Regions from separate parts of the Homo sapiens genome. Here region 1 is linked to region 2. The links are contacts of gene promoters, found by promoter capture Hi-C in blood cells and fetal thymus (Javierre and others, 2016). All regions are on one chromosome and are shown on one strand. Each heading gives the region's core, a stretch centred on a gene start or on the middle of the fragment in contact. The rest is flanking DNA. Distances are from core to core; before and after follow the strand shown. Region 1 holds the start of SLC61A1 (solute carrier family 61 member 1). Region 2 overlaps AAAS (aladin WD repeat nucleoporin).

The links. The method cuts DNA at HindIII sites, captures the fragments that hold promoters and counts their contacts. A CHiCAGO score of 5 or more calls a contact.
Region 1: the fragment with the promoter of SLC61A1 here is called in contact with a fragment that was not itself captured in region 2 in 1 of 17 cell types (total B cells); the score reaches 5.1 in total B cells.

The regions. Positions count from the first base shown.
Region 1 is chr12:53,250,153-53,254,891 of GRCh38, forward strand. SLC61A1 (solute carrier family 61 member 1) reads left to right here and starts at 1,943. Exons shown (of 2, transcript NM_032889.5): 1 at 1,943-2,116; 2 at 2,666-4,254. The coding sequence starts at 2,684. The coding sequence ends at 4,036. RefSeq lists enhancers at 1,606-1,655, 1,789-2,460 and silencers at 1,926-2,205, 2,216-2,265. The HindIII fragment of the contact is 5,764 bases long and covers 1-4,739 here.
Region 2 is chr12:53,317,322-53,321,594 of GRCh38, forward strand. It overlaps AAAS (aladin WD repeat nucleoporin), which reads right to left. Exons shown (of 16, transcript NM_015665.6): 1 at 4,022-4,273; 2 at 3,244-3,371. The coding sequence starts at 4,144. Among named protein-coding and RNA genes, the nearest start is that of AAAS, 2.2 kb to the right of the region's middle. RefSeq lists enhancers at 2,828-2,917, 4,136-4,273. The HindIII fragment of the contact is 2,664 bases long and covers 1,683-4,273 here.

The DNA of each region.
Region 1 (4,739 bases), core at 693-3,192, 68 kb before region 2:
CCGCTTCCCAGGTTCAAGCAATTCTCGTACCTCAGCCTCCTGAGTAGGTGGGATTACAAGCGCGCACCACCAGGCCCAGCTAATTTTTTTGTTTATTTGTTTTGAGACGGAGTCTTGCTCTGTTGCCCAGGCTGGAGTGCAGTGGTGCAATCTCGGCTTACCGCAACCTCTGCCTCCCAGGTTGAAGCAATTCTCCTGCCTCAGCCTCCAAAGTAGCTGGGATTACAGGTGCACACCACCATGCCCAGCAAATTTTTTTGTAATTTTAGTAGAGACGGGGTTTCGCCATATTGGCCAGGCTAGTCTTGAACTCCTGACCTCATGATACGCCCGCCTCGGCCTCCCAAAGTGCTGGGATTACAGGTGTGAGCCACCGCGCCCAGCAATTTTTTGTATTATTAGTAGGCATGGGGTTTCGACATGTTGGCCAGACTGGTCTTAAATTCCTGGCCTCAAGTGATTCACCCACCTTGGCCTCTCAAAGTGTTGAGATTACAGGTGTGAGCCACCACACCTGGCCAAGATAGTAAATAAATAAACAAGGAAAATACATAGTGTACTGCAGAGTAAAAGCAGCAGAGAGAATAGAAAATTGGAAGGAAAGTAGGTAGATTACTGTGCTGGAGGTGGTGGTGTTGCTATTTTAAACAGGAGGGCCATGGAAGGCCCCTCTGATCAGGTGACATTTTTTAAAATTTTATTTTATTTTTTATTTTTTTGTGAGACAGAGTCTCGCTCTGTCACCCAGACTGGAGTGCAGTGGCGTGATCTTGGCTCACTGCAACCTCTGCCTCCCTGGTTCAAGCGATTCTCCTGCCTCAGCCTCCCGAGTAGGTGGGATTACAGGTGCCCACCACCATGCCTGGCTAATTTTTATATTTTTTTACTAGCGACGGGGTTTCACCATGTTGGCCAGGCTGATCTTGAACTCCTGACCTCAACTGATCGGCCTGCCTCAGCCTCCTAAACTGCTGGGATTACAGGAATGAGCCACCAGGCCCAGCCAAGATCAGGTGACATTTGAACAGAGAACTGGAGGAGGTGGGGGGGGGAACCACGTGGATATCTTGGAGAAGAACTGTACAGGGAACAGTGTGCAAAAGCCCTGGTGGTAGCCAACATAGATGGGAGGGAGAGGAGCAGGGGATGAAGTCAGAGGAGTGGCAGAGGGTCAGAGGACAGAGGGTCTTGTAGGCCATTATAAATACTTCGGCTTTTACCCTTAGTGAGATGGGAAGTCATTGGAGGCTCTTGAGGAGATGATACGGAAGCTGTAGAGAGGTTAAATAGTTTTTCCAAGGTAAAACAGCTTGTAAGTGGCAGAAGGTAGGGAATTAAGCTCCAAGGCTGAAGTTCTTAACCCCATGCTGCCACTGAACTTTAGCCTTCTTTATTTGGGCATTGCTATCCTGTGACTTCAAAGAAACTGGGACACTGGGAAGTTATGCGGCTTGCCCAAGGCCACACAGCTGGTAAGTGACAGGGGCAGGACTGCGCCTTAGTCTGTCTGCAGCCCGACTCCAAGTTCTTTACACCACACCGCCTCCCTCAGGTGTCTGGACCATACTGGCTTCTCTTGCATGGAGGTCACTGCAGTGGGAGAGGAGGCAAACCAAGGAGACCTTCTCGGCTTCGGGCAGCGGTGCTGTTCCTTAGGAAGCTCCAACCCTTGGCTCTACCGGACTGCGGGCATCTTTCCCGAGCACTGCACGGAAGAAAAGAAAATTGGCACTTATTTCAGGGTGGCCCCTCAGGCATCCAAGAGCCAGAGGAGCAGGTGTCACGGGATGGCAGCGAGCGAGGCCAGGCCAGGAGAAGCAACCGCAGCCTCCTATGGTCGCCCCTTCCCGACCCACCCCAGGCGTCAGGAGTTCCGCGCCCGGGTAAGGGAAGGAGGGCGGGCGGGCGGGGCGGGGCGGGGTTTTGGCGCCGCGCCCCCGTCACGTGATGAAGCCATCATGGCGGCGGCCAGAGGCCTGCCCGGCTCCCGGAAGCAGGCTGTGAGGGGCGGGAGCGCTGCTGGAACCCGAGCCGGAGCCGGAGCCACAGCGGGGAGGGTGGCCTGGCGGCCTGGAGCCGGACGTGTCCGGGGCGTCCCCGCAGACCGGGGCAGCAGGTGAGGCGGAGTCTGGGCGAGGTGCAAGTGGATGTGGCAGGGCTGGGCAGGGGCTAGGGGGCGCAGTGGGGTGCCAGTGACCTGGAGGAGTGGGCCTCTGAGATGCACACGCATGACCCTGAAGCAACTCGAGAGGCCTGCGCGGGTGGGAGGGATGCCCGGGACAGAGGATGAGACACTGAGGGCAAAAAGAGGCTCCGCAGCGAGGACGGGAGGTAATAGAAGGAAGTGTACGGGAGCTGCTGTGGGAAAGGGCAGTAGAATTTGCGGGAGCGGGATTATTGAAAGGGACTCCCTCTTCACAGGCAAGGATGGGTTGAGTGCCCAGTCCTCTCCCCTGTCTTCTTACCCCTCCCTGCCCCACAGTGTCCTAGGAGACAGCTTTGGCGTGGCCACTCCTCCCACCCACCCAACTGGTCCCTCCGGTCTGAGATCTTGGGGAGTGGAGTTGGCAGCGGGGTTGGGTGGAGCTGCCATCTGCTTAAGACAGCCCCTTGACCGTGCTGCCCGAAGGATGGATATGGCTCTGACTCCCACCTCTCTTCCCAGGTCGTCCGGGGGCCCACCATGCTGGTGACTGCCTACCTTGCTTTTGTAGGCCTCCTGGCCTCCTGCCTGGGGCTGGAACTGTCAAGATGCCGGGCTAAACCCCCTGGAAGGGCCTGCAGCAATCCCTCCTTCCTTCGGTTTCAACTGGACTTCTATCAGGTCTACTTCCTGGCCCTGGCAGCTGATTGGCTTCAGGCCCCCTACCTCTATAAACTCTACCAGCATTACTACTTCCTGGAAGGTCAAATTGCCATCCTCTATGTCTGTGGCCTTGCCTCTACAGTCCTCTTTGGCCTAGTGGCCTCCTCCCTTGTGGATTGGCTGGGTCGCAAGAATTCTTGTGTCCTCTTCTCCCTGACTTACTCACTATGCTGCTTAACCAAACTCTCTCAAGACTACTTTGTGCTGCTAGTGGGGCGAGCACTTGGTGGGCTGTCCACAGCCCTGCTCTTCTCAGCCTTCGAGGCCTGGTATATCCATGAGCACGTGGAACGGCATGACTTCCCTGCTGAGTGGATCCCAGCTACCTTTGCTCGAGCTGCCTTCTGGAACCATGTGCTGGCTGTAGTGGCAGGTGTGGCAGCTGAGGCTGTAGCCAGCTGGATAGGGCTGGGGCCTGTAGCGCCCTTTGTGGCTGCCATCCCTCTCCTGGCTCTGGCAGGGGCCTTGGCCCTTCGAAACTGGGGGGAGAACTATGACCGGCAGCGTGCCTTCTCAAGGACCTGTGCTGGAGGCCTGCGCTGCCTCCTGTCGGACCGCCGCGTGCTGCTGTTGGGCACCATACAAGCTCTATTTGAGAGTGTCATCTTCATCTTTGTCTTCCTCTGGACACCTGTGCTGGACCCACACGGGGCCCCTCTGGGCATTATCTTCTCCAGCTTCATGGCAGCCAGCCTGCTTGGCTCTTCCCTGTACCGTATCGCCACCTCCAAGAGGTACCACCTTCAGCCCATGCACCTGCTGTCCCTTGCTGTGCTCATCGTCGTCTTCTCTCTCTTCATGTTGACTTTCTCTACCAGCCCAGGCCAGGAGAGTCCGGTGGAGTCCTTCATAGCCTTTCTACTTATTGAGTTGGCTTGTGGATTATACTTTCCCAGCATGAGCTTCCTACGGAGAAAGGTGATCCCTGAGACAGAGCAGGCTGGTGTACTCAACTGGTTCCGGGTACCTCTGCACTCACTGGCTTGCCTAGGGCTCCTTGTCCTCCATGACAGTGATCGAAAAACAGGCACTCGGAATATGTTCAGCATTTGCTCTGCTGTCATGGTGATGGCTCTGCTGGCAGTGGTGGGACTCTTCACCGTGGTAAGGCATGATGCTGAGCTGCGGGTACCTTCACCTACTGAGGAGCCCTATGCCCCTGAGCTGTAACCCCACTCCAGGACAAGATAGCTGGGACAGACTCTTGAATTCCAGCTATCCGGGATTGTACAGATCTCTCTGTGACTGACTTTGTGACTGTCCTGTGGTTTCTCCTGCCATTGCTTTGTGTTTGGGAGGACATGATGGGGGTGATGGACTGGAAAGAAGGTGCCAAAAGTTCCCTCTGTGTTACTCCCATTTAGAAAATAAACACTTTTAAATGATCATTGATTTGATTTACTCATCCTTACCTGTAGCCTTATCAGTAGTTTCTGGTGAGTGGGCAGCTAGAGGTTTTTTTTTTAGTTTTTTTTTGTTTTGTTTTGTTTGTTTTTGTTTTGAGACGGAGTCTTGCTCTGTCGCCCAGGCTGGAGTGCAATGGCGCGATCTTGGCTCACTGCAACCTCCGCCTCCCGGATTCAAGCAATTCTCCTGCTTCAGCCTCCCAAGTAGCTGGGATTACATGTGCCTGCTACCATGCCCAGCTAATTTTTGTATTTTTAATAGAGATGGGGTTTCATGTTGACCAGGCTGGTCTCGAACTCCTCACTTCAGGTGATCCACCCACCTCGGCCTCCCAAAGTGTTGGGATTACAGGCATGAGCCACCACGCCCAGCCCAGCTAGAGGTTTTGAGGTGGGATTATCAGCAAAAGTTTTCTGTTTCTAACTTCTCCAAGGCTGTCTCCAGTTCAAACTGAGAACTATGGAAT
Region 2 (4,273 bases), core at 1,765-4,264:
CTGAGGCGGGCGGATCACAAGGTCAAGAGATCAAGACCATCCTGGCTAACACGGTGAAACCCCATCTCTACTAAAAATACAAAAAATTAGCCAGGTGTGGTGGTGGGCGCCTGTAGTCCCAGCTACTCGGGAGGCTGAGGCACGAGAATGGAGTGAACTCGGGAGGCGAAGCTTGCAGTGAGCCGAGATCGTGCCACTGCACTCCAGCCTGGGCAACAGAGCGAGACTCCGTCTCAAAAAAAAAAAACCAAAAAAATAAAACAAAACAAAAATTAACCAGGCGTGGTGGTGTGCACCTGTAGTCCCAGCTACTCAGAGGCTGAGGCAGAAGAATTGCTTGAACCCAGGAGGCGGAGGTTGCAGCGAGCTGAGATCACGCCACTGCACTCCAGCCTGGGTGACAAAGTGAGACTCTGTCTCAAAAAAAAAAAAAGAATCTACTTCAGGAACCTAGGAAAAAGGTGAAAGTGGCCTGAACTGGTGGGGATGAAGAAAAAGAGACAGATTTGAGAGATTTAGGAATTAGCATAAACAAGATGTGAAGACTAATCAGACATTAGTAAAGGAAAGAGCAATACAACAGAAACACCTAGGTAATAATTACATCAGCTAATATGCTTACAATGTGCCAGCTCTGGACTAGGTGCCTCACATTAACTAATCAAGCCATTATGACAATCCTACAAGATAGGTATTGTTATCACTGCATTTATTTTTATTTTATTGAGACAGGGTCTTGCTCTGTGACCCAGGCTGGAGTGCAATATCACCATCACGGCTCGCTGCAGCCTCAATCTCCTGAGCTCAGGTATTCTTGCCTCGGCCTCCCGAGGAGCTGAGACTACGGGTGCACACCATCATGCCCAGCTAATTTTTAAATTTTTTGTAGAGATGGGGTTTCAGTGTGTGTGTGTGTGTGTGTGCGTGTGTGTGTGTGTGTGTGTGTGTGTGTTAAGACGGAGTCTCACTCTGTCACCCAGGCTGGAGTGCAGTGGTGTGAACTCGGCTCACTGCAACCTCTACCTCCTGGGTGCAAGCAATTCTTGCACCTCAGCCTCCTGAGTAATTAGGATTACACACGGAGTTTCACCACATTGGCCAGGCTGGTCTCGAACTCCTGACCTCAAGTGATACACCCGCCTTGGCCTCCCAAAGTGCTGGGATTACAGGCATGAGCTTCCGCGCCCAGACTATCACTGCATTTTTAGATGAGAGAACAAAGGTGTGAAGAGGCTAATTAATATGAACAAGGTAATCTAAGTAGAAAGTAGCAGTCAGGATTCAACCATCTATCTACCCCAGAACCTATACTCAAACCACTTTTTCCTGAATGAGTAATATGATCATTCCTTAAAGTGAACCATCCAGAGAAGCAGATTTGGAGAGAGAAATAAAGAGACTGGATTTGAGCATGCTGAATATATGAAGTCTGCGAAATATTCAAGCAGGATAATTTGGCAAACACGTGAACACCAGGTCTGATGCATCAACTGGAAATCTAGCCCCAAGAACACCAACATTTAAGGGACATCAGGAAGAGGAGCCACCAAAAACCCTGAGAAGCAGCAGCCACAGAAGTAGGAGACAAGGAGCCTGGGAATGAATGGCTTTTCAACAAACTGATATTCAACTTCACACACACAGGCATGCCCATTAAACTGTACTGAAGTACCAAAGATCAAAGCTTGACAGCACATGTGTTGGAAAACAGGCACTCCCATACACTGCTGGTGGGACCATATACATGTACCATTTTGACAGAGGGCTATTTGGAACAGCTCACAAAATTACAGATGAACATACCCTCTGAGCCAGCAACTTAATTTCTAGGAATTTATCCTACAAATGGTAATGGTATTAATAAAAATATTAAGTAACCCTTTTTTTTTTTTTGAGACAAGGTCTCACTCAGTGCCACTGCACTGGCACAATCTTGGCTCACTACAACCTCCACCTCCCAGGCTCAAGTGATCCTCCTATACATAAGCCTCCCAAGTAGCTGGGAATAAAGGTGCATGCCACCATACCCAGCTAATTTTTGTACTTTTCTTGTAGAGAAAAGAACATGGTTTCGCCATGTTCCCCAGGCTAGTCTCAAACTACTAAGCTCAAGCAATCTGCTGGCCTCAGCCTACCAAAGCGCTGGGATTATAGGCGTGAGTCACTGTGCCTGGCATAAATAACCCTTAAAGGAATTAATATGTGCCATTAATAGGTCCAGGTGCAGTAGCTGTAATCTCAGCACTTTGGGAGGCCAAGGCAGGCCTGAGGTCAGGAGGCCAGACCACCCTGGCCAACATGGTGAAATCTCATCTCTACTAAAATACAAAAAGTTAGCTGGGCGTGGTGGCACATGCCTATAGTACCAGCTACTCGGGAGGCTGAGGCAGGGGAACTGCTTGAACCAGAGAGGCGGAGGCTGCAGTGAGCCGAGATCGCACCTCTGCACTCCAGCCTGGCAACACAGCAAGACTCCGTCTCAAAAAAAAAAAAAAAAAAAAAAAGAAAAAGAAAATGAGCCGGGCGCGGTGGCTCACGCCTGTAATCCCAGCACTTTGGGAGGCCAAGGCGGGCACATCATCTGAGGTCGGAAGTTCAAGACCAGCCTGACCAACATGGAGAAACCCTGTCTCTACTAAAAATACAAAATTAGCTGGGCGTGGTGGCACATGCCTGTAATCCTAGCTACTCGGGAGACTGAGGCAGAAGAATCGCTTGAACCTGGGAGGTGGAAGTTGCAGTGAGCTGAGCACGCCACTGCACTCCAGCCTGGGCAACAAGAGTGAAACTCCATCTCAAAAAAAAAAAAGAAAATGAAACCAGGTAGTGTAGCTCCACTCCTACAAGTGCAAAGTGGATGACCTATGTAGGAGATTATTCAGTGCAACCTTATATCTGATCTTGCTGAGCTTCAGGTAAAAGCTCAGAAGTGGTAATGCCATGAGGTGGGGGCAGGGAGCAGGTTCACCTAATCAAGCCAGAAAGCAAGGCAAGTTACTAGAGATGAAATGGAAGTACTTTTTCCATAGTGTTCCTGGGAAGGGCAAGGAAGGGAACCTGACATTTATTGAGCATTTGAGTTCTATAATAAGGACTAAAAATTTCATATGATTTAGGATATACAGCTCTCGTGGAGACAGCCTGAATAAAAGTCTTTTGAAGAACACCCCAAGGTAAAGGGGTGTTGACTCATTTTCCAGGATCTGCAGACTGTGACCCAGGAAACCCTTTGCCATGCCTCACCAAATGTTGATGCATCTCTTCCACACTTGCTCCCGGTGATGGATGAAGGCAGTTCTTGTGCCATGGTCCAGCCTTCCAGGGGTCTTTAGGGGATCCTTTGTCAGTTGTAGGACAGGAAGATTGATCCACTATAGCACAAAAGTGAGGAGTGTGACGGTGATTCAGTCTCTTCCCAAATCTTTAATTCCGTGCCATCTCCAACCCACCGCTGGGCTAAGTATAAGAGATTCCAGAGGTCTGTTTCCCATTTCCACAAAGCTAACACTTGTGAGAATGGGAAACAAGTCTTAGCTCCCGTATCTGTGCAACTAGAATAATATTTCATAGGGTTGCTGTGATTATGAAACCATATGACATTTTTAGAAAACACCTGACTCAGCCTCTTTCTTACATAGCAAACGCTCAATAAATGTCAGTTTCCCTTCCTTGTCCTTCCCAGGAACACCATGGAAAAAAGTTCCATGTTGTATCCTTCTGATCCTCCCCAGATACTGTCCCCAACTTTTAGATAGTTCTCCCGCATCCTCACACTCCCTAGATTCTCCCTCATTCTCTCCATTCCCTCTAGGCCTCCTCCACAGCTCCTTAACCGTTCCCCCGTTATACTCCAATCCCAGTCCTAAAACAGATTCCAGCCCTTCTAGCCTCCTGCCGGGGCCAAGCTGTTTCCACTCCGCCAGACTCTGTGACCCTGCCCCTGTCACACTGCCTCCTTTCCCCAGTAGTCCCCGACTCCGCCCCCATGCCTGTAGGTCCCCTCCCTCCTCGCCCTGGCCACCTGGCCCCGGAAGTCGGGGGGCGGGCTCTCATAGCTACTGCCCGTCACCAGCTCGTTATTGTGCTCATATAGGGTGACTTGACCCCGAGGCGGTGGAGGAGGGAACAACCCCAGAGAGCACATCTTGCCGGTTCGCAGGACGTCTGCAGTCGGCAAACTCCTGGCCGGAACGGCACAGACCGCACTCCCGCAACTCGGTTCCCGGGCTAGATTCGTATGCGGACGGGTACCGCAAGGGACAAACGGCGAGGC